Regions from separate parts of the Homo sapiens genome. Here regions 1, 2, 3, 4, 5 and 7 are each linked to region 6. Evidence: promoter capture Hi-C in 16 types of primary human blood cells and fetal thymus (Javierre and others, 2016). All regions are on one chromosome and are shown on one strand. The core of a region is centred on a gene start or on the middle of the fragment in contact, and the rest is flanking DNA. Distances in the headings are between cores, read along the strand shown. Region 1 overlaps PSMD5 (proteasome 26S subunit, non-ATPase 5). Region 2 has its middle 2.7 kb from the start of GSN. Region 3 overlaps GSN (gelsolin). Region 4 overlaps GSN (gelsolin). Region 5 has its middle 4.9 kb from the start of PSMD5. Region 6 holds the start of CNTRL (centriolin). Region 7 has its middle 23 kb from the start of PHF19.

Region 1 (3,039 bases), core at 322-2,821, 240 kb after region 6:
GGTGGGAGAATCGTTTGAACCCAGGAGGCAGAGGTTGTAGTGAGCTGAGATCGCGCCACTGCACTCCAGCCTGGGCGAAAGAGTGAGACTCCATCTCAAAAAAAAAAAAAAAAAAAAAGGTTGGGGGAAAGGGGGAAGATATCAGTTTATTCACTGGCCATTTATATGCCAGACACTGTAGCAGGTGCTTTGCCTGTTCGGTCTCATTTAATCTTCGTAACTATCCTGGAATTAAATATTGTGTTCCCATTTTACGGATAAGAAATGGGGCTAAAATTTGTGCAAGGTCAGTGTAGCTAAACATAGAGCTGGGTTTGTATTGTTTTCACTCACTGAACTATCTTACCTCTTTACCCACTTTCTTTTTTCTTTCCTTTCAAAGATGTGACTATACCATATGTGTGTTTGACTGAATGAATTTAGGTCATTTTGATTTTTTAATGAATTGATATATAGCTGTGATCACTAACTCCTAAAATAACTGTGCACTAAGGAAATTGGACCATCGTGTGTTTACCGTATGTTGCCCTACTTTAGAAGAGTGTTTCTGATTGTTTTTCTTTCAGATTGGAAGAATTGTTGAAAATTCTGATGCTGTTACTGAGATTCTAAATAATGCTGAATTACTAAAACAAATTGTTTATTGCATTGGTGGAGAGAATCTATCTGTAGCAAAAGCGGTGAGTCTACTAGAATCATTGACTTAAATGTGCAGAGACATCGGTGTCCCAAAAGATAAAGAAAGGCCTTCTGAATTGAGAGGTGAAGGTTTAGAATGGATGATTTGCGTAATGGAATTTACAACTTCATATGGATTGTGTAAAATAAATGGTTGTCAAGTAAATACTAGTAAACCCCTTTCATTTTCTAGGATATACATATCTACAGTATCCATCATAATTCTATGGGGGATACCTTGCGTCTTTTCCAATTATAAATAATAGCTAAAACATGGGCAAGGTGCATTCCATGCACTATTTTTACATCACTCTTATGAAGTAGATAATAACCTGCATTTTGGGAATGTAAGAGATATTTTCTTTCGTTATAAGGCTATCAAATCCCTGTCAAGAATATCACTAACCCAAGCTGGACTGGAGGCTTTATTTGAAAGCAATCTGCTGGATGATTTGAAAAGTGTAATGAAAACAAATGACATTGTTCGATACAGGGTGTATGAGGTAAGATAAAAAGCACACTTTCTCATGCTTACAAAGCAGAATGCAGTTTGGCTTATGCTGAAAAGCAAGATGGCTCATTAAGTATATAATCTGTGTTTGGCCCTACAGTAGGTGCTGGGAATATAAGGATGCATTCCCAGCCTAGTATGTGAGACAGTCATAAAAAATACTTACAGCCCAGCTCTATGGGAGGCAAGGGCAGGAGGACCCCTTGAGGCCAGGAGTTTCAGACCAGCCTGGGCAACATAGTGAGACCCCATCTCTACAACGATTTTAAAAATTAGCTGTGCATGGTGGTATGTGCATGTCGTCCCAGCTACTCAGGAGGTTGAAGTGGGAGGATCAACTGAGCCCAGAAAGTTGAAGCAGCAGTGAGCCGTGGTTGCACTACTGCACTCCAGCCTGGCCAACAGAGCAAGACCCTTTTTATATATATATATATATTTACAGTGCAATATAATTACTATGATAGAGAAGATATTGAAACCAGACTTGAAAAAATTTGTAGTAGTAATAAGAAATGGCCCTTATTTGTACCAGCTTTGTACTAAGCACTATGCTAAAATACTCACATATATTATCTTTAATTCTTACAGTAAACTTTGTATGTTGTTATCATTAACCTCATATTGATGGAGCAATTGATCCAAGACCACACAGTTAATAGGGTGCATGTTTGAAATAGAATCCTCTATAGTCTAATTCCATCTTCAGAACACTTTCTTACTTTGCATGTCATGATACCATACTATGCTGCTTTTCCTTCTACCTCTCAGTTTCTTCTCAGCCTCCTGGCTCATTATCCTCCGTTGAATCTTTAATTGTTGGAGTTGATGAAAACAGAGTTCCAAGCCCTGCTTTCACGGTACTCTACTCATTCCTAGGCAGTTTTACTCACTTATGATTTCACTTCCCATCAGTGATGATGCCTCTCAGATGTAAACTTCCAACTGAGACCTTTCTTCTGAGCTCGAACCTTCATGCTCAACTGCTTACTCACTCTTGGCCCCTTGGGTATATTCTAGGCCACTCAAACTCATGCTGAAATCAAATTCCTGATCTTCCTTATCCACCCTATCCCCCTAATAAAAAATAAGACAACAAACTGGCTGTGTCTCACAGTCTGCTTAGTTGGGTATTAGACCTTGGCTCATTCTGAGGCCTGTTTTCCTTGCCACATATCCATTCGGTCATCATATTTTGTTGATTTTATTTAAACCCCTGCATTTCTCTTCATTAGTACAGCTTCTACCACCCTAGACTAACTTACTGGTGTCACTCACCTGGGCTACTATATTTGCATCCAAACTGGTCTCCACTCATCCATTTTTATCATCCCTAGTCTATCTTCTCATGCAGTCAGAATGGTCTTTTAAAAGTCCAAATCTGATTGTGTCATTTCTCTGCTTAAAACCCTTCAGTGTCTTCCTATATCTCTCAGTAAGACCTCAGAACATACTTGCTGAATGAGTGAGTGAATGACTGACTGACTGACTGACAGGATGCCTGAATGAGTGAATGGTTTTATAATCTGTTTGTTGTGGCTGATTCAGGCTTTTGTACCCTGATTGATGATTGCTTGGGCGGGAAAGTGCTGATACACCTAGATATAATGGAACATTTCTGTGCCAAGGTGGCAGGGCATGGTGGCTCATGCCTGTAATCTCAACACTTCAGGAGGCCAGGGCGGGCAGATCACTTGAGGGCAGGAGTTCAAGACAAGCCTGGCCAACATAGCAAAACCCCATCGCTACTAAAAATACAAAACAATTAGCCAGGTGTGGTGGTGCATGCCTGTAATCCCAGCTACTGGGGAGGCTGAGGCACGAGAATCGCTTGAACTCAAGAGGCAGAGGTT
Region 2 (2,906 bases), core at 69-2,568, 190 kb before region 6:
TTTCCATTGAATAGCAGCCAGGGAAGCCACAGGACCCAGGGAATCTCACCCTGGCTCTTCCTCCTGCCATTCTCTCTTTGTTCAACACCAGTAAATACAAGAACCATTTCTTGAATGCCTCATGCCATGCTCTGGGCTTCCCACGTATTACCGACTTTAATTCTCACCTCCCTACCTGGCCTCCTAAGGGAGGCATTACCATGTGTATTTTTCAGATGAGCAGGCCAAGCCCACAGAAAGGGTTAAGTACTCTCTGGAGGTCACACTACTGATACTGTGCAGTCTACTCTTCTATGCCTGAGTCCTTGGCCCTCGCTTCTTTGCTCAATGTCTTATGTCACACTCTGCCACCTTTCCTGGCTTGGGAAATTCTGCCCAGTTCCACTTTCTCTGAGAATACAAGCAAGGTATCCACCCCGCAGGGAGGCTCACACCATCTCTGCTACTCTCTGCTTTCTCCAGAGGCTGCCTGGGGCCCAATGCAAGGCTGCTGGGGAGAAAAGCAAAAACACAGGCTTATTTGGCTCTGGAATCTTTGATTACAAGCCCCGGCATACACATGCCTTGGAATTATCTAACATATCATTTCCAGCCCCAGCAACTGCTCTCAGACAAAGGGAGGTGGAACTCTGAATCTGTGTCCCCATAGAACTGGAGAATACCACATCACGATGGAGGAAACATTGGAGAATGTCTGCTCCAACTCCTCCCTTTAGAGATGGAGAAACTGAGGCCAGGAGAGCAAAAGGGTTCACATTCTAAGCTAGATCTAAGGTTCCATATTCTAAGCTGGGTCAGATGCCTACCCATAACCCTGTAATTGCTCCATTTGGTGGCTGGAGAGGAACATGGGAACAGGGTATCACCAGGAATCATTAGAAATGATAATGAAGATAATGATGATGATGATTGATTGATGATGATTGTGATGATGATAACCAATACTTACATGGGAGTGCTCCTCTAGGAACACTTCTAGAAATCTCCTGGTGCTTTGCTTTATGACTCAACATGTGTATTTTATAGCTGGCAGGATATATCAAGTCTGCCTTTCATGGATGCCTAGAAGTCTTCTTGGTATCCTGTCTTCATTCCTTTCTAGATACCTCTTTGTACTTCTCCCCCCATTGGATCTAGGTAAGGTAAGGCCTGTTTGTCCTGGATCCTCACCTCAGAGTGAATGTCTTGCTGATAAGGATCTCCTCTGATGGAAGAACTTTGATATCTTCTTTTGCCAGAAGACCACCTCCTTCCCAGAGTGAGGCTGGGGAGAAATGAAGGCCACACACAGGCCAGGCATTAGACAATCTGGGGGTACCTGCTCTCTCCTCTGAGAACGCCTCTTCCCACCCAAGGGGATGGCCCTCACTTGCACCCAGGTTTGTACTGTAACCTTCCCCCACAACACAGTTGACAGCATGAGGAGTGGACGGCAGAAAAAAGCTGGACTATTAGAATTTGGAGCTGGAAGTTGAGACATGACAATCATGGTTAATTAACTGGGTCTGTGAGGACCAATGATCTCTGAAGGCCAAGGCTGCCATTTTGAGGTGGCCATCTTCCATCGTATTCACAGAGAAAGCCAATGAGGCTCGTTAAATGACTAGAAGGGTGTCGCAAAACTCACAGAGGAGATGCCTGGGCTGGGCAGCCCAGGAGGCTTCAGGGTTCAGGGGCTCTTCTGATTACAGACCTCTCCTGGAGCTGGCTTCAGAAAGAGAAGTTATCAGCACAAGTATTTGTTGAGCATCGAATGCCTTGTAGTTTGTCCCTAGAAGCAGAGGATGAGACAGGGATTTCATACAAGGGATTACTTGAGAGAGCACTCTCAGGAGATCCTGAAATATCCCATGGAACACTAGGGCAGGGGTGCAGCTGGGCCTCAGGATCAGACCACAAGCAGGACCTGAGTACTAAAGGGAACCCAGAAAGTACTCTCTCCCCCATCTTTCATCTCTGCCTGTCTGCTCACATCACACAAGCATTTCTGCTTTCCAGAAAATGGCTTTTACCAGCAGCAAGCTGGAATCTTTGTTTGTAGTCCACATTCTAAGTTGGATCAGATGCCTACCCTTTATCTAATTAACTCTGGCCCGAGTGACAGGGTCCTACTGCACAAACCTGGCTGCTCCCACTGTAACCTGTGGGTGGAGGGGGTGCACTTCCCAGAGAAAAGGGGAGGGGAAGCCAAGCAGAGACAACGGCTTGGATTCAGTCAGCCTTGAAAGGATGGAAAGAATAAGAGTGGAGGTGAGGAAGGGAACAGCATCTTCTGCTAAGAGCACAGAATAAGCAAAGGTGTGGAGGTCAGAGAAAGACAGAGCTGGAAGAAGGAAAGGAGACTGTTATTTTCTCCAGCCTCGGTCCCCTTTAGTGTTGTGCTAGTGTTGTGTTCTTAAGAACTGATTTAGTGTGTTTAGTGTTGTTTTCTTACGAACTGATTGCTCAATTTCCATGAATTTTTGTGGATTTTTTTGAGACAAGATTTCACTGTCACCCAGGCTGGAGTCAGTGGCACAAACATGGCTTCCTGCAGCCTTGACCTCTGGGCTCAAGCAATCCTCCTGCCTTAGCCTCCCAAGTAGGTGGGACCACAGGTACATCCCACCAGGCCTGGCTAATTTTTATGTTATTTGTAGAGATGAAGTCTCTCTATGTTACCAGACTGGTCTTAAACTTTTGGGCTCAAGAGATCCTCCCACCTCAGCCTTTGAAAGTGCTGGGATTATAGGAGTAAGCCATCACACCTGGCCAAATTTCCATGCATTCTTACACCCAGCTGTATTAAGGCTGTATTAAGCACAGCCTTCAATAACAATCTATATAAACTTATAATTAAGTAAATTATAAATTGATATGGTCTGGCTCTGTGTTCCCACCCAAATCTCATCTCGAATTGTAATCCC
Region 3 (3,226 bases), core at 62-2,561, 210 kb before region 6:
GCTGTTAGCAATCTACTTCCTCAACCTTAACAGCAGCAGGTTCTCTCTCTCCTAAGCTCTGGAATGCAGACGTGCTCACAGCCAGCACCAGCAGGCAGGGAGGGGAGCGGAGGGAGGACAGCTTAGAGGAAAATTACCCGGCTTTCACCCCAGCCAACACTGGTGCTCACAGCTATCTCAGAGAGAGGGGATCTGGGGGCCTGGCAAACCCTTCCTGAGCCGTGGGCTTGGCCCCAAGCTTTGACCCTTGTCTGAGCTGATGGGATGGCGGGGGGTTACTCTGGCCACCACTCCGCTGGGCCCCTCCCACTCTTTGGCATCCAAAGAGACAGGGAGGAGGAGGGAGAAAAAAAGAAAAAAAAGAAAAAAAAAACAGACTGCCTTTGTGAGGAGGAGGAACTTGGTTCCTGCTGTTGCTTGCTGGGGCCCCAGGCACCAACATAATGGAGGATCCCTGATGACAAAGGGTCCCACTGTGGCCAAGAGCCTGCCCAGTTGCCATAGCTCAAGTCTCAAATCCTAAGTACCATGTCTCTGCATCATAGAGTTTGTCATGCCCAGTGTCACATACCCTGTGACTGTGCCACGTAGCAGGCCCTGCGTTCCTCTTGCTTTGTCCTGTGTGTCTCCCTTTAGCGGCATCCCATGCCTCTTACCCCTGGGTCATGCTTCATGCACCATGTGATGTCTGTTTTGTGACAGACTCTATACCATGTACTATCTCTTGAATGCCGTGTCCATGATACCAGGTCCCACCCCTTAGAAGTATGTGCCATAAACCTTGTCCTGGATCTATGAATTGTGTTGTCCCTTGCTTGGTGATTCACATCAGGAAGGGGACAGGATGATGTTTAGGGAGGACAGGCTCTCAGATGGACTCCCAGCCCTATCAACTATCATCTATGTGAGCCTGTAAAAGTGACTTCCCGTCTCAGTGCCCGTTTCTTCAGTTATAAAATGAAACTGATACTCACATTCACCGAGGATTAAAGTAGGTAATGCATGTAAGATGCTTAATCTAAGAAGCTGGCACAGAGTGAGTGCTTTAAAATGTTTGCTAGGCCTGTGCCAACCGTACCTGGGCATCTGTGTTATGTCCTGTGCCCTGCGTACCAGCCTCCCACGTGCCCAGCTCCTCGGGTGCGTCAGACACTGTGCACATTAGTGAAATTCAAACAACCCCCTACAAGGAGGGTAGGATTATTCCCTCTCATACAGAGGAGTAATGGAAGGGCAATAATTTGCATGAGGTCACAGGGCCAGCTGGAATGAACACAGCTCTGGATCTTCGGAGAGACAGAAAGCAGGCCAGGTGAGGTGGCTCATGCCTATAATCCCAGCACTTTGGAAGGCTGAGGCGGGAGGAATCCATTGAGTTCAGGAGTTCAAGATCAGCCTGGGCATCACCACAAGTCCCCATCTCTACAAAAAATACAAAAATTAGCCAGGCATGATGGTGTGTGCCTGTGGTCCCACCTACTCGGGAGGCTGAGGTGGGAGGATCGCTTGAGCCCAGGAAGTTGAGGCTGCAGTGAGCAGAGATCACGCCACTGCACTCCAGCCTGGGTGACAAAAAATACAACAATAAAACAACAAAGAGACAGAAAGCAGATGCGTGGTCAGCTATGGGGTGTGCATAGAGATGGACGTAAGCAAGCATGAGGGATCCTTTTGGGGATGATGAAAATCTTCTCAACTGGATTGTGATGATGGTTGCATAACTCTGTAAATGTACTAAACATTATTGAATTGAGTGAATTATGTGTATGTAAATTATATGTAAATTTACTCCAATAAATCATGTAAATTATATTTCAATAAAGCTGTTTTTAAAAAAAAAAGAAAAAAAAAGCCCACACGCTTCCTGTGTACTATTCTGCCAAAGCATTCTGCAAGAGAAGGGCGCTCCCTGTGGGTCAGTGAAGTTCAATCAGAGGCCGAGCTGCTCTGAGGCCCAGCTGGGAGCCAGTTTGAGCCGAGCAGTTCCCTAACACCTCTGTGGACCAGGTGTGCAGCAGGATCACCCAAGGAGCTCAGGAAACAATAGATTCCCAGGCCCCACCCCTAGCCTCTGAGTCTGTAGGTCTAGGGTGGGGCCCGGGAACCTCTGATTCTGAGGCTCAGCCAGGACTGGGCCCACATCTTCCTTTCACATTTGGGGAAACTGAGGCTAGGCAGGAGAGGGGCCTGGTCAGACCTAGTTGATCAAACAGTGGGAGAGCCAGGGCTAGAATTAGAGCCCTTTCCTCTTCTCGTCTCTCCATTCCCTCCGCCTCCCTCCCACTCCTCCCCCTGTCCTCAGCCTCCCGGTGACTCAGGGCTGAGTCACCCAGAGGCCCCACAGAGGAAACTTCTTAGGAAAAACAATCGCCAAACAAAGCTTTCCCTGATCTGGGGAAGAGAATAGGCCCAGGGGGCCAAGAGAGGGAGGGGAGGGAGAACACAGGGTGGAGTCGGAGGCTCCAAGACTTGGAGTCTCAGCCACTCCCTTGTGTGGGGCCCTAGATAGGGACGTCCCCGGAATGAACGTCCCCATCTGCAAATAACACCTCCTATGCTCATAGAAGCCCATTGTGATGATAAGTACTTTATAAGCATTGTCTTGTTGAATCCTCCCCAAAACCCATGGCTGGCATTGTCTCCTTTTATAGACGGAGGAACAAAAGCTCAGAGAGGTTCAGCCCAAGGTTACACCATTAGGAATTCAGGGCTGTCTGACTCTGAAGTCCGAAGTCTGACTCTCACTTCTACACACCTTTAAAAAATACCTACTGTACACAGTGGCATGAAGATCAGCTCTCATCAGACAGGTAAGGAGAATGATGGCCACAGTGGCTGTTCAATCACAAATTGTCTCCTTTCTTTCTCTGACTTCCCGGCCCAGAGGGCACACAAACAGGAACACCAATAGTCATTCAAGCAGTTGTGGGCCCTGGGAGCACAAAGGAGGGAGCACCCATGGCCCAACAGAGCCACGGAGGAGGGGCATTGGGGCAGAGCCTTGGAGGATAAATGGAGTTTCCCTTTTGGGAAGGTGGGAACAACAGACGCAAAGGCTTGGGGGTGTGGCCTGCACAAGGAAGCGTAAACAGTTTGGAGAAGCATGGCTGGGGTTGAGACAGTGGATACCTCGGGGAGAAGGGGTCTGACTGCTACGGAGTCCTGGCCTGACCGGACACACTGAGGATTTTTAAGCAGGGAGAGAATAGAATTGGAACTGGTTTCA
Region 4 (3,063 bases), core at 102-2,601, 230 kb before region 6:
CCTAAGACATTCTGCAAGGAAAGAGTTCCACGGTCAAATAAGCATAGGGAATGCTTCTCACTCACCCTCCCTGACTGTTATACAACGCGCATGTGCATAATAAAGGCTCTGTCAAATCCTATGGTGAATACACCTGCTTGCCTTTTGTTTTATACAGTATTTCCCTATCTTATTGAACCAAGAACTGCTTTTCTTTCTTTCCCTCTTTCTTTTTTCTTTCCTTTCTTTTTTTCTTTCTTTCATTCTCTTTCCCTCTCTCTTTCCTTTCCTTCCTTCCTTTCTCTCTTTCTCTCTCTCTCTCCTTCCTTCCGCTCTCTCTCTCTCTTCCTTCCTTTCAACAGGGTTTCACTCTGTCCCAGGCTGCAGTGCATTGGTACAATCACAGCTCACTGTAACCTCAAACTCCTGGACTTGAATGATCCTCCCATCTCAGCCTCTCGAGTGGCTAAGACTACAGTTATGAGCCACAGTGCCCAGCTTACTTATTTTATTTTATTTTATTGTAGACATGGGGTCTCACTATGCTGTTTAAGCTGGTCTTGAACTCCTGGCCTCAAGAGATCCTTGGGTGCTGGGATTACAGGAGTGAGTCACTGAACCCAGCCCAAGAACCACTTTTCTTCACCATATCCTGCCTCCAGCTTGAGTATTTTGCAAAAGCCACTTTGAGAGGTACTAATCCAAATCTTTCTCATCCTTCAAGGCTCTCTGGGAAGTCTTTCTGGATTGTTCCAGCCCATGCCACCCTTCTGCTTTCCCCTACGGTACCGCAGCAACTCCCACCCAGCAGTCCCTTCAGAGCAGCTATGGGTAAGGGACAGGTGCCCCGCCACAACAATGCTGGATGGCTTTGGGTAAGTCACTTGCCCTTTCCGAGCCTCAGGCCTCTCCTTTCTGAAGTGGAGACACAAGCTCCTGCTCCCCAGCCCTCTGTAATCATTACTGCATCCCAGAGCAAGGCGTTCAGGAGAGCTTCCCTGCTGCAGTCACAACTGCCCTCACTCAGAAGCAAGCCAAGGAAAGTCAGCTGGGCTTTCCTGTGAGCAGTCCCCAGCTCCATGCCCCAGAGTTGTCAAATCAGAGTTGGAAAGGTCCTTCTACTTCACCCCACTTTACCCACGGTAAACTGAAGCCCAGAGAAGTGAAGTGACTTACTCAAGGGCACTCAGCAAGTGCGTGGCCAAGCCAAGGCTGGAAACCTTGTTTCCTCCTCCCAATCGGGTGCTCGTCTCCCTGCTCCGGAGACACATGGGGGTGGAAGCAGAGGGCTTCCACTCAGGCCAGCAATGCAGCCACCCCATCCAGGGCCCCTCAGCCCACTGTGCTAAGTCTAATTCTAGCCGCACAGACTCGAGGAGGGCAAGGGACAAACGGAGTCCGTGTATATTGGGCTCCTGCTCTGTCTTCCTGTGTCAGCAGTATACGTGTTTGTGAAATGATGATGCCCACTGTGCCGGGCATTCTTCACGCATCGCCTGCAAGGGAGGTGTCATTGCTGCATCGCACTGATGTGCAAAATGGGGCCCACAGGTGACGGGACTTGCCCAAGGTGGTGGAGCTAGAATTCAAACCCAGGCATGTCTGAATCTGTAAGATCCACATTCTTCTCTCAATATCAGGTTTTCTCGCTCTGTTGCCCAGGCTGGAGTGCAGTGGTGTAATCTCAATTCACTGCAGCCTCCACCTCCTGGGTTCCAGCGATTCTTGTGCTTTAGCCTCCCAAGTAGCTGTGATTACAGATGTGCACCACCATGCCCAGCTAATTTTTGTATTTTTTGTAGAGATGAAGTTTCACCATGTTGGCCAGGCTGGTCTCGAACTCCTGGCCTCATGTGATCCTCCCGCCTTGGCCTCCCAAAGTGCTGGAATTACAGGCATGAGCCACTGTGCCAGCCAATATCAGGTTTTCTTAGAGCAAAGATCACTCAGTCATCCAGGATGGGAGGCAGGAACAAGCCATTATTCAGAGCCCTCTTTCAAGTAATGGATGTTTTTGGGTTGCCAGTGGCTGGAGGACTCCCTGGTGTCCCTTCTTGGTCTCAGCTAAGGCCTTTCAAGAGTCCCTTGGGACTAGCAGGGCGGCCAGTGCTCACAGAGCTAACAACCTATCTTTCCACCCTGCTTCCAGGGCCCCTTCAAGGGAGCTGTGGGTTGGCCACACTATGACTGACCTCGGTGTGGAGCAAGGGGTAAGACTGTGACTTCTGCTCCTGAATTTGCTGCCCAAAACTGGGAAGCAAGACAGTAAATTTTTCCATCATCAGGAAGGAGTGAGTTGGGACTCTGGGGTGAGGGACTGACCAGCTGCAGTCACAACTGCAGTCACAACTGAGGGGGTCCGAAGGCTGGATGGCCGTGAGGCCTGGGATTGGAGAGCCAGGCAGAGTGCAAAGGACATAGGTCAGGGCAATGCAGGGGAAGCGCAGAAAGGCAGGGGAAGCGCAGAAAGACAGGAGGGTTCTGAGACCGATGTAACCAAGCCTGCCCAGAGCAAGTGAGGAAGAACCGCCAGGGAAGAAAATGCAACAACCTGCGCTCACCTGTGCTCAGCTGTGCTTACCTGAAACAAGCACAGTGGCTGCCACTTACCGAGCTTTGCCAAAGCTGGGGCACCTGCTTTAAGTGCATGCAATGAAGTCCTGACCACAAGCCCCTGATGCAGGAACTATTAATAATTTTCCCACTTCAAAGGCAAGGAAACTGAGATTCAAAGAGATTAAGCATTGTGTCCAGAGCCCAGTGCTGGGCGGCAGTGCTGGGTTCTATCCCCAAGATCCCCCTTCCAGGGACCCAGCTTCATTCAACTGTCAGCCTAGGAACTCCTGACCAGGGGACTTCATTCACCTGGACATAATGAGAGAGTGGATGTGCAAACCTTTTCCAAAAGGTGCTAGAAGGACTCACTGTTTCTATTGATTCCTCGGAGACAAGGAAATGGGGGGAAAGAAAAAATTTTTACCCCTCTAAATATTTTACTTGTTGAAGTATGCCTTTCATTTTTGTTATTAAAATCTTTACCCTATTTTTTAAAAAGGAAAAGGGTTGCTTCATGTCATAAATCTC
Region 5 (3,066 bases), core at 21-2,520, 230 kb after region 6:
AAAGAAAAGAAAAGAAAAAACAAACAACAGGCTGGGTGTGGTGGCTCATGCCTATATCCCAGCACTGTAGGAGGGCGAGGCAGGTGGATCACTTGAGTCCAGGAGTTGAAGACCAGCCTGGCCAACATAGCAAAACTCTGTCTCTACCAAAAAATAAAGACAAAAAAAATAATAAGCCGGGCATGGTGGCGGGCACCTGTAATCCCAACTACTTGGGAGGCTGAAACAGGAGAATCGCTTTAACCCGGGACACAGAGGCTGTAGTGAGCTGAGATCATGCCGCTGCATTCCAGCCTGGACAACAGAGTGAGACTCCGTCTCAAAAAAAAAAGAAAAAAAAAAAGACTCCCTACACTCACATCCTCACTAACAGGATGTTAGTGGCTTCTATTTTTCCCTCCCAAAAGTACCTGGAGAAGGGAACAAAACCAAATTATGATGCTCCTAAGAGGAGCTCAGTGAAGTGTCAAACCTGGCCCACCTAAGTGACCTACTGAGGAGAAAACTTTAAAATCTTTCCAAGCCTATATAAACAAGTCTAGAGTTGACCAAGGCCTCACATGTCATCTGGTCCAACGATTCCAATGCATGCATCTGGCATTTGCCTGAACATTCCTGGAGGTGGGAGGTTCATCATCTCTTGATGAAGTCCATCTAACTTAAAGGTTTTCACAAGATGCTTTTTCTTATAGTGTGCCAACATCTGCCACCTAGCTTTTTCCCCAACTGGCCTCATCAAGAACCACCCCAGGACAGCCCTGCAGAAACTCCTATGTCTTCTCTGCTTGAGCTCTTCCAGTGCTCATCCTACACACTAGTGCTATTTTGATCACTGACTTTCCAAGGAGAGTGCCCATAAATGAATAACTAAAAACACGGAAGACTGCAGGGAAGAAGTAAGCCTTATAGTTATGGAAACTTTTAGATGCTGAAAACAAAGTCAGAAATGATGATCAGAAGACAGTATAAGAACACCATCAGGGGAAAGGAAAGACATTTACCCTGAGAAGATCAACAAGGGCAAATCTAAGATGACCAAGGCCACTGGCCCTTCCTGTGTCACAGGACTGTGGCAAAATAATACATCACGAGAAAGGATGGGCATATAAAGGAAATAGTAGGATGAAATTCTATTCAATTTCCCAACACTGGTTCCCAGACTGGCTAAATGTGACTTATCTATACAAGTCTTTAAAAATTCAGAGACCTGGGCCCCATCCTCAGGGCGACTAATTGAATAGATTGAGGCTGGAGTTCAGGGATAGACCGCATGGCCAAATTTGGGAACTATGACTACAGATGGTGTGAGCCACTGAGGAAATAACATCACTGGGGAGAAAAAGGTAGCTTTCATTATATAGCTTATATGACCTTGAGAATGTATATTATGTCTCTCTCTTTTGAGGGTGTAAGGGAGAGAGGGAAGGAAATGAGAAACATGATCATCAGGGAAAGGAAGACGTACGACAAATCCTGCACAGCTAGTGCCAGGATGCTAAAGTATTGTGATGAGGGAAATGGTGCAGACCAGGCTTCTAAAGTGAAGTTGTTAATGAAATGAAAGGTAGACAATACGCAGAAGCAGCCTGTCATATATGCTAAACTGTCTGTTTTCTGGAGAATCCAAAAGCATTGGAAACTGTTTTCTCTGATATCCCTAGTTGGTTTACTCAAGGATAAAATGCCCAGACTTCCTTCCTAACAGCAGGCTAATTGATTTAACCAAAGAATGTGCAAACAAGATATACTGTTCCTAAATTATGCAGTTTTTCCTTCCTTCTCTATACAGTCTATTTTTGCTTTTGTTGGACAACATCCCACTGATCGATCGATCTCTGAATAAAAACACTGAAATGGACTGTTGATTATCTAAATGCCTTTGAGTTATTCTGACAATTCCTTTAATTCAGTGTTCTTTACACCAGCCAGGACCTGACCCTAGCACTCCCCACACTCCCCCCACTCCCCCTCCAATGGCAACAGCAAAACTCACAGTGAAGATGCCTTGAGTAGGATGTTCACAGAGGCAGCCAGCTCCTTATCCAGCATGGCCCTGAAGCAAAGGCACAGGGTGGCAGTTACTGGAGCAAGTCCTGGGGTCTCAAGAAAGGGGAAGGGGATGGGGTTCCAGGGACTTACCCAGGAAACCTGACTCTAAGTAGACAGGCTTTTAGCATTCCCTCCCCTTACATCCTCCCTGCTCAAACCAGCACATTCCATAACTATCAGGCACAAAACCTCTGAAGATAAGCTGTTTGTAAGTCCTTCTCTGGGTGAGGAGAGAAGCAGGGAAGCACCTATGGGAAGGCAGTTTGAATAACAGGCCCAGTCTGCTTAGAGAATGGGAGTTAACACTGAACCAAAAATAAGAAGACCTAGGTTCCATTCCCCGTCCTGCAGTAACATGGCTGTGTGATCTTAAGTTCCTTCTTTCATTCTAGTAAGAAGTATTCAAGCACCTACTCTGAGATAGGCCCTTTCCCACCTCTCAACTTGAATCTCCTATTGGTACAAGAGGATTGGTTTAGCTGGTGGTTTCCAACCTTTTTCACTACCGAGAACTTCTTTTATTATGCCACCTTCTGCTGTTAACTCTCAGAGATGCATCTGGTTGATGGGTGCTTTGATTTGTAGATACCCATGTGACCGCACAGAGCTGATACAACTCCAAAGCAAAAGCAAAAAAAGAATCATATCCTGTGTTCATTTTGGCAAATACAAGCTCTTTTCACTTGTTATTAAAGGTTTCTACCACAGCCCTAACAGCATAGTCATCTCCTTTACAGACCTCTAAGATTTTTTGACTGACTCCAGGCTGAAATGCCTTGTCAGATGTTGTTTGTGTGTGTGTTTTAGAGACAGAGTCTTGCTCTGTCACCCAGGCTGGAGTGCAGAGGCACAATCTTAGCTCACTACAGCCTCGAACTCCTGGGCTCATGCAATCCTCCCACTTTAGTGTCCCAAGTAGCTAGGACTACAAGCATGCACCACCATGCCTGGCTAACCTAAAAAAAATTTTTTTTTACAGATGGGGTCTCATTTTCTGGCCCAGGCTGGTCCCAAACT
Region 6 (3,057 bases), core at 292-2,791:
CAATTACTCCCCTCCCTAAACAAAATACTCAAACCTCCATCCATTCCTCTTCATCCCAACCCAACTGCCTGCCTATTTGCCTTTCCATCCTAATACTCTAGCCCCCGTATCCTTCTCCATCCTATTAAAAGCCTGAATCCCCTCTCCCATCTCTCTTCTTCTGCTCAGATACCCTAAAACTCAAGCTTCCCATCTCTTTCCATTAATTATTCAATTTTATTGAGCAACTTTTATGTAGGAAGAACCATGCTAGAATCTAAGCTCAAGATGCAGAAGATTTTATCTCCCTATTACCCATGATCTCTGCACCAAGCAGTCTCCTTCATAGCATTTTATAACCATTATTTGTGAAACTACTTGGTTGTTGCCTGTTTCTCCTTCTAGACTATAAGCTACAAGAGAGCAGAGGTTTTGTCTGTTGTTCTATAAACAATAAATATTTGTTGACTGAAGGACTGTACTAAACACTTAGACAATACCAAATTTAAATCCTCAAAGATTTAGCTGTATAGGATCAGAATTATTAACCTGATTTACAAATGGCAATGTACCTGAACAGTTAAAAGCTTGGATTCTGGAACGAAACAGCCTGAGTTCAAATTCTGATTTTCCACTTACTGTGTGATCTTAGGCAAATTACTTAACCTCTCTGGTCCTCAGTGCTATCACTTTTTAAATGGGGATGATAACCTCATACAAGTTATTTTAAATTCTAAATGAGGTTAATACGTGCAAAGTGCTTAAAACTGGATCTGACAAATAGTGAACACCCAAAAATGATTCGCAATTATTTGGACAAATGAGGAAACATGATCAGGAAGGCTCAGACACATATCCAGGGTCACAGACCTGGTTAAGTTACACAAGGTGGCAGAATTGAGGCTTCAACCCAAGTTTGTCTGGCTTCAAAATTCTCTAGTCCCTTAACGAATATAACGGAAGTGTTTGTTCTTCCCCTTCTTTTAGCATTTCGTCCCCATATCCTGTCATCTTTCTCCACGCACTGTACTCCGTCCGATACCGTGACAACCCGTCAGGACGCCCAAACTGTCCTTTCTCCCGCTCACTCCCCACAGACAGCTGGCACATCCCAGCTCTCCCCTCAGCTCAGGTGGCAGGACCCACAACCTTCTGGGCGCCGCACCCTAACTTCCACACCTCCCCACACTCTGGTTCTTCATCCCCAATCGCCCCCGCCGTCCCCACCTCTTCCCATCCAAACCTCCCTCCTTCATCCACCGCCCCACGCCCGTTCCGGGCCCTCCCCTCTTTCCCGTCCAATCCCAATTCCCAGACACGCGCCCCCGCCCCGAATCCATCCCAAGCCGGCCCACACCACGCCCGGTCCGGGCCTTCCCGCCTTTGCCGCCGGCCCCCACTGCTCGGGCCGGATGCCGGGGAACGGGCTCGGCCAGGTCTGACGCTCACCGCCTAGAAGCCGAGCCGAGCAGTCCCGCAGGCTGAGGTAGAGCGGGAGAAGTTCGGGCTCTTTCCTCAGGGGCCCAGCGGCGCGGCAGCCATTTTGTTGTGTTGTGCCGGTTGCCGAGGGGCCGCGCGCGCGTGGTCGGGGCTAGTCTCAGCCACGCCCCTCTCCCTCTCCGGTACTGTTGGAAGGGACGCGGAGGCGTTTCCCGCCTCTTTTGCAGCCAGCGCGCTAGGATGCCGGGGAGTCTTGGGCGCGAGGCTTCCGGCCGCGCGGGGCCGACGGGATGCGGTGCCTTCGCCTTCGGATTGCGTTGCAGGTGAAGTGTCGGGTGCAGAGTCAGGGGGAGCCGAGGTTTCATGCGGCAGCTGCCCGCAGTGCTGTGGCCTTCGCTGAGACAAAGCTGCCGCCGCCACCCTCTGAAACACGGACACGCTTCTCAGGGCCTGTGTCCGAGGACGGCCTGAGGCACCGGCGCAGCGCCTCCCCGGCCTCCCCCACTTCTGATGCTTGCGCGCTATGAGCGAGTGTTCTTATCAGCACACTTCTCTCTGACAGTCGTATCTAAAGCGAATTCCCTCCAGGGACCGAACTGCCCAGGCTCGGATGAACCTCAAAGCGGACGCAGCCTGGGCTCCAGCTGTCGCGTGAGGTTCAGGGAGCTTGGGAATCCTAGGCAGAGGATGTTCCTCTGATTGCTACAAGGGAGTTAAAGCAAGAAGCACTTGCACAGGCTTCATCTGGGGCTTGCCCATGAGCACGGCGTTCACGACATGCATTCAACAGATATTTTAAAGAATTTAGCAGATACTGGGCTGGATGCTAGGGAAACACTGAAGTTTTTTTTAAAGTGTTATCACCATTGACGCCTTTCACTCCAGTAGCCTCCCGTTTTGAAGGTATACCCTGGACCATGTTACCATCAGAGGCTGCACCCGCTCCAGAAATCCCCAGTGCAATCGCTCCCCATCCTTGACTATAATCCTATCATCTTAGCAGCGTGCCTGCTCAAAAGACCCCTATGCCAGCGTATTTCTAAACTTCCTTGCGTCTTCCAGTCCCTTGTTCTTACCATTTTCTCGCGATCATTCTATCCTGTCTTCATTTCCTTTCTTCACTACAGAGTTTATAGGCCACCTGTATAACACTTTTAGAAACTCCCTCTCTCTCTGTGTCTCAGTTTCCTTATCTATGAAATGAGGTCCTTTTACCTATTAACACTTCCTACAGTTTTCCTGATAATTATAAAAGTGAATCCTGGCCGGGCGCTGTGGCTCATGCCTGTAATCCCAGCACTTTGGGAGACCAAGGTGGGAGGATCACTTGAGGTCAGGAATTCAAGATCAGCCTGGCCAACAAGGTGAAACGCCGTCTCTACTAAAAATACAAAAATTACCCGGGCGTGGTGGCGCACGCTTGTCATCCCAGCTGCTTGAGAGGCTGCAGGAGGATCGCTTGAACCCGGGAGGCGGAGGTTGCAGTGAGCCGAGATCGCGCCACTGCACTCCAGCCTGGACGACAGAGCGAGACTCCATCTCAAAAAAAAAAAAAAAAAAAAAAAGTCCAGTTTTCCTGATAATTATAAAAGTGAATCTCTGTGAAAGAACTTAGAACAGTGAGGGACCCATAGTAAG
Region 7 (3,117 bases), core at 173-2,672, 170 kb after region 6:
CAGAACCTTCCCCTGCTTCCTGCTGGATGGGAGGAACATCTGATCCTCATCACTTAACAGCCCCTGAAGTGCACTTAGAATACCAGGTGCTGCCGGCTCCCTGGGTCTGGCCATAAGGTGCACTCCTTACTTGGTTTCTGTGACTCCTAATCCAAATGAGCCAAGGGTCCGAGGGGCTACATGCAACCCCTTCCCTCAACGGTGTGGCAAGCACCCTTTAATCCTCTTTTACAGATTAGGAAACTAAGGCCAGAAAAGCCAAGTGCTTGGCCCAAGGAGGCAGGGATGGGACTGGCATTAGAAATCAGGTATTTGCAGCTGGGTGTGGTGGCTCACACCTGTAATCCCAGCACTTTGGGAAGCCAAGGCGGGTGGATCATCTGAGGTCAGGAATTCGAGACCAGCCTGACCAACATAGTGAAACCCTGTTTCTACTAAAAATACAAAAAAAATAGCTGGGCATGGTGGCACATGCCTGTAGTCCCAGCTACTCGGGAGGCAGAGGCAGGAGAATTGCTTGAACCCGGAAGGCAGAGGTTGCAGTGAGCTGAGGTCGCACCACTGCACTCCAGCCTGGGAGACAGAGCGAGACTCTGTCTCAAACAACAAAAAAAAGAAATCAGGTATTTGCTTCCAGTTTCTTTCCTTCCTCTCCTTTCTGGGTGAAATCTTCAGCTTCGATGAGATCATATCTTCATGGAGGCAGTAGGTCCCTCTACCCCCAGCCAAAGGGCAAGCCCTGTGGTACCTACTGATGCCAGCCTGGCAGCACCCCAGGAGGGCAGGGCAAGCAGTCAGTGCCATACAAGCTTGCTCACAGAGGCCACCTCACGGGTGTCCACAGGCAATCCTCAGGCAACCCTGGGCAGTAAGGGCAACTATTATTTATGCCTTCAATTACTAATTCCTGATTGTAAGAGACACATACTCATTATAGAAAAACTAGGCCAAGCACAATGGCTCACGCTTCTAATCCCAGCACTTGGGAAGCCAAGGCAGGAGGATTGCTTGAGGCCAAGAATTTAAGACCAGCCTGGGCAACATAGCAAGATCCCGTCTCTATAGAAAAACTGAAAATTAGCTGGGCATGGTGCCATATGCCTGCACTCCCAGCTACTCAAGAGGCTGAGATAGGAGGATCCCTTGAGCCCAGGAGTTGGAGGCTGCAGTGAGCTGTGATCACATCATTGCACTTCAGCCTGGGTGACAGAGCAAGACCCTGTCCAAAAAAGGAAAATAAAAGAAAAACTAGGAAAGTACAAAAGTCATATAGAGAAGAAAGCAAAAATCACCCATGAGCCCAGTGTCCAGAGAGTACTACTGGGAACATTTTGGTTGATTTTCTTTGCATTTTTGAGAAAGTAGATACAAACACATACATGTAGATTGACTTTTAAAAATGTAATTAGAATCATATTGATTACTGTTTTGGGCTCTCCCTTTTCACTTAACATCCTGTTATCACATTCTACCATTAGCCCCTTCTTCCAGGCAAAGACACAGAAACTAAGAAAATGAAGTCAAGGCCGGGTGCGGTGGCTCACGCCTGTAATCCCAGCACTTTGGGAGGCTGAGGTGGGCAGATAACCTGAGGTCAGAAGTTCAAGACCAGCCTGGCCAACATGGCGAAACCCTGTCTCTACCAAAAATACAAAACTTAACTGGGCATGGTGGCCCATGCCTGTAACCCCAGCTACTCGGCGGGCTGAGGCAGGAGAATCACTTGAACCCAGGATGTGGAGGTTGCAGAGAGCCGAGCTTGTGCCACTGCACTTCAGCCTGGGTGACAGAGCAAGACTCTGTCTCAAAAAAAAAGAAAAGTCAGTTGCTCAAGGCCATTCCAACTCAACATTCACACTCGGGTCTTTTGATACCAACGCCAGGGCTGAAATGATCACAACTGTTTTTAGATGGAGAAACTGAGGCATGGAAGGGCAGTGTCCTGCACCAGTGTCATGCTGGGACTCACCCTGGGGGAACTGAGGAGGGGATTTGCCTTGTGGGACTGGAGGAGCTGATGGATTTAGAAGCTTGTGGGCAGGACACCGTGCTCACAGCCTGGGCTGGGGAGAGTAACACAGCCTCTGCATTCAAAAAAGCTTAGCCCCAGTGAGACAAACAGCATCTACTTTCCTCTACTGAGCTCCAGAGCAGAGGCTAACTAAGCCTCAGCTTCTACTTCTGCCATGAGAGTGAAAATTCTAACTTCACCATGTTGTCGTAAGGATGCCAATTGCAGAAGCCACTTGCTTTGTCCACTGTGGGGGTGCCAGTGTAAGAATAACAGAATCTTTTTATCTTTTTTTTTTTTTTTTGAGACGGAGTCTTGCTCTGTCGCCCAGGCTGGAGTGCAGTGGCGTGATCTCGGCTCACTGCAAGCTCTGCCTCCCAGGTTCACACCATTCTCCTGCTTCAGCCTCCCGAGTAGCTGGGACTACAGGCGCCCACCACCATGCCCTAATTTTCTGTACTTTTTAGTAAAGACAGGGTTTCACCATGTTAGCCAGGATGGTCTGGATCTCCTGACCTCATGATCCACTTGCCTCAGCTTCCCAAAGTGCTGGGATTACAGGTGTGAGCCACTGCGCCTGGCCTTTTTTTTTTTTTTCTTTGAGACTGAGTCTCGTTGTGTCGCCCAGGCTGGAGTGCAGTGGTCCAATCTTGGCTCACTGCAACCTCTGCCTCCTGGGTTCAACAGATTCTCCTGCCTCAGACTCCCAAGTATCTGGGATTACAGGCGCCTGCCACCACACCTGGCTAATTTTTGTATTTTTAGGAGAGATGGGGTTTCACCATCTTGGCCAGACTGGTCTCAAACTCCCGACCTCAGGTAATCCACCTGCCTTGGCCTCCCAAAGTGCTGGGATTACAGGCATGAGCCACCGAGCCTGGCCGGAATAAGATAATCTTAAACAATCATGGAGTGCTTAGCTAGTGCCAGACACGGCACTGCAGGCTCTACCTACATCGCTCCATGAAACTTTCATAAAAAACCCATCAGGAAGGTGTGATTATTATCATCTCTGTTTTATAGTAGAGAACACCCAGTCTTCAAGGGGTAAAAAATCACTCACCCAAGGTCACACAAGCACCAGGAGCCAGGACTTGAACCAAGAT

Evidence for each region. Contacts are between HindIII fragments. The CHiCAGO score rates a contact against its expected background, and 5 or more counts as called.
Region 1: a fragment that was not itself captured here is called in contact with the fragment with the promoter of CNTRL in region 6 in 8 of 17 cell types (naive CD4 T cells, total CD4 T cells, naive CD8 T cells and 5 more); the score reaches 17.0 in naive CD4 T cells.
Region 2: a fragment that was not itself captured here is called in contact with the fragment with the promoter of CNTRL in region 6 in 2 of 17 cell types (naive B cells and total B cells); the score reaches 6.7 in naive B cells.
Region 3: a contact is called between a fragment that was not itself captured here and the fragment with the promoter of CNTRL in region 6, in 1 of 17 cell types (megakaryocytes). The highest score is 5.2, in megakaryocytes.
Region 4: a fragment that was not itself captured here is called in contact with the fragment with the promoter of CNTRL in region 6 in 1 of 17 cell types (naive B cells); the score reaches 5.1 in naive B cells.
Region 5: a fragment that was not itself captured here is called in contact with the fragment with the promoter of CNTRL in region 6 in 14 of 17 cell types (naive CD4 T cells, naive CD8 T cells, total CD4 T cells and 11 more); the score reaches 35.0 in naive CD4 T cells.
Region 7: a contact is called between a fragment that was not itself captured here and the fragment with the promoter of CNTRL in region 6, in 9 of 17 cell types (naive CD4 T cells, activated CD4 T cells, fetal thymus and 6 more). The highest score is 11.0, in naive CD4 T cells.

What each region holds. Positions count from the first base shown.
Region 1 is chr9:120,829,473-120,832,511 of GRCh38, reverse strand. It overlaps PSMD5 (proteasome 26S subunit, non-ATPase 5), which reads left to right. Exons shown (of 10, transcript NM_005047.4): 3 at 567-680; 4 at 1,053-1,181. Among named protein-coding and RNA genes, the nearest start is that of PSMD5, 12 kb to the left of the region's middle. The HindIII fragment of the contact is 5,177 bases long and covers 1-3,039 here.
Region 2 is chr9:121,264,019-121,266,924 of GRCh38, reverse strand. It overlaps a transcript of GSN not described here. Among named protein-coding and RNA genes, the nearest start is that of GSN, 2.7 kb to the left of the region's middle. The HindIII fragment of the contact is 6,397 bases long and covers 1-2,906 here.
Region 3 is chr9:121,286,308-121,289,533 of GRCh38, reverse strand. All of the region lies in intron 2 of GSN (gelsolin), which reads right to left. Among named protein-coding and RNA genes, the nearest start is that of GSN-AS1, 2.4 kb to the right of the region's middle. RefSeq lists a silencer at 1,829-2,123 and an enhancer at 2,263-3,226. The HindIII fragment of the contact is 2,142 bases long and covers 241-2,382 here.
Region 4 is chr9:121,307,231-121,310,293 of GRCh38, reverse strand. All of the region lies in intron 4 of GSN (gelsolin), which reads right to left. Among named protein-coding and RNA genes, the nearest start is that of GSN-AS1, 23 kb to the right of the region's middle. The HindIII fragment of the contact is 5,040 bases long and covers 1-3,063 here.
Region 5 is chr9:120,846,281-120,849,346 of GRCh38, reverse strand. It overlaps the pseudogene CUTALP. Among named protein-coding and RNA genes, the nearest start is that of PSMD5, 4.9 kb to the right of the region's middle. The HindIII fragment of the contact is 6,542 bases long and covers 1-3,066 here.
Region 6 is chr9:121,073,439-121,076,495 of GRCh38, reverse strand. It overlaps CNTRL (centriolin), which reads right to left and starts at 1,541. Exons shown (of 44, transcript NM_007018.6): 1 at 1,429-1,541. It also overlaps a transcript of C5 not described here. RefSeq lists silencers at 1,137-1,276, 1,397-1,456, 2,081-2,277 and an enhancer at 1,577-1,966. The HindIII fragment of the contact is 4,047 bases long and covers 569-3,057 here.
Region 7 is chr9:120,898,694-120,901,810 of GRCh38, reverse strand. It overlaps a transcript of PHF19 not described here. Among named protein-coding and RNA genes, the nearest start is that of PHF19, 23 kb to the right of the region's middle. RefSeq lists an enhancer at 3,110-3,117. The HindIII fragment of the contact is 1,221 bases long and covers 812-2,032 here.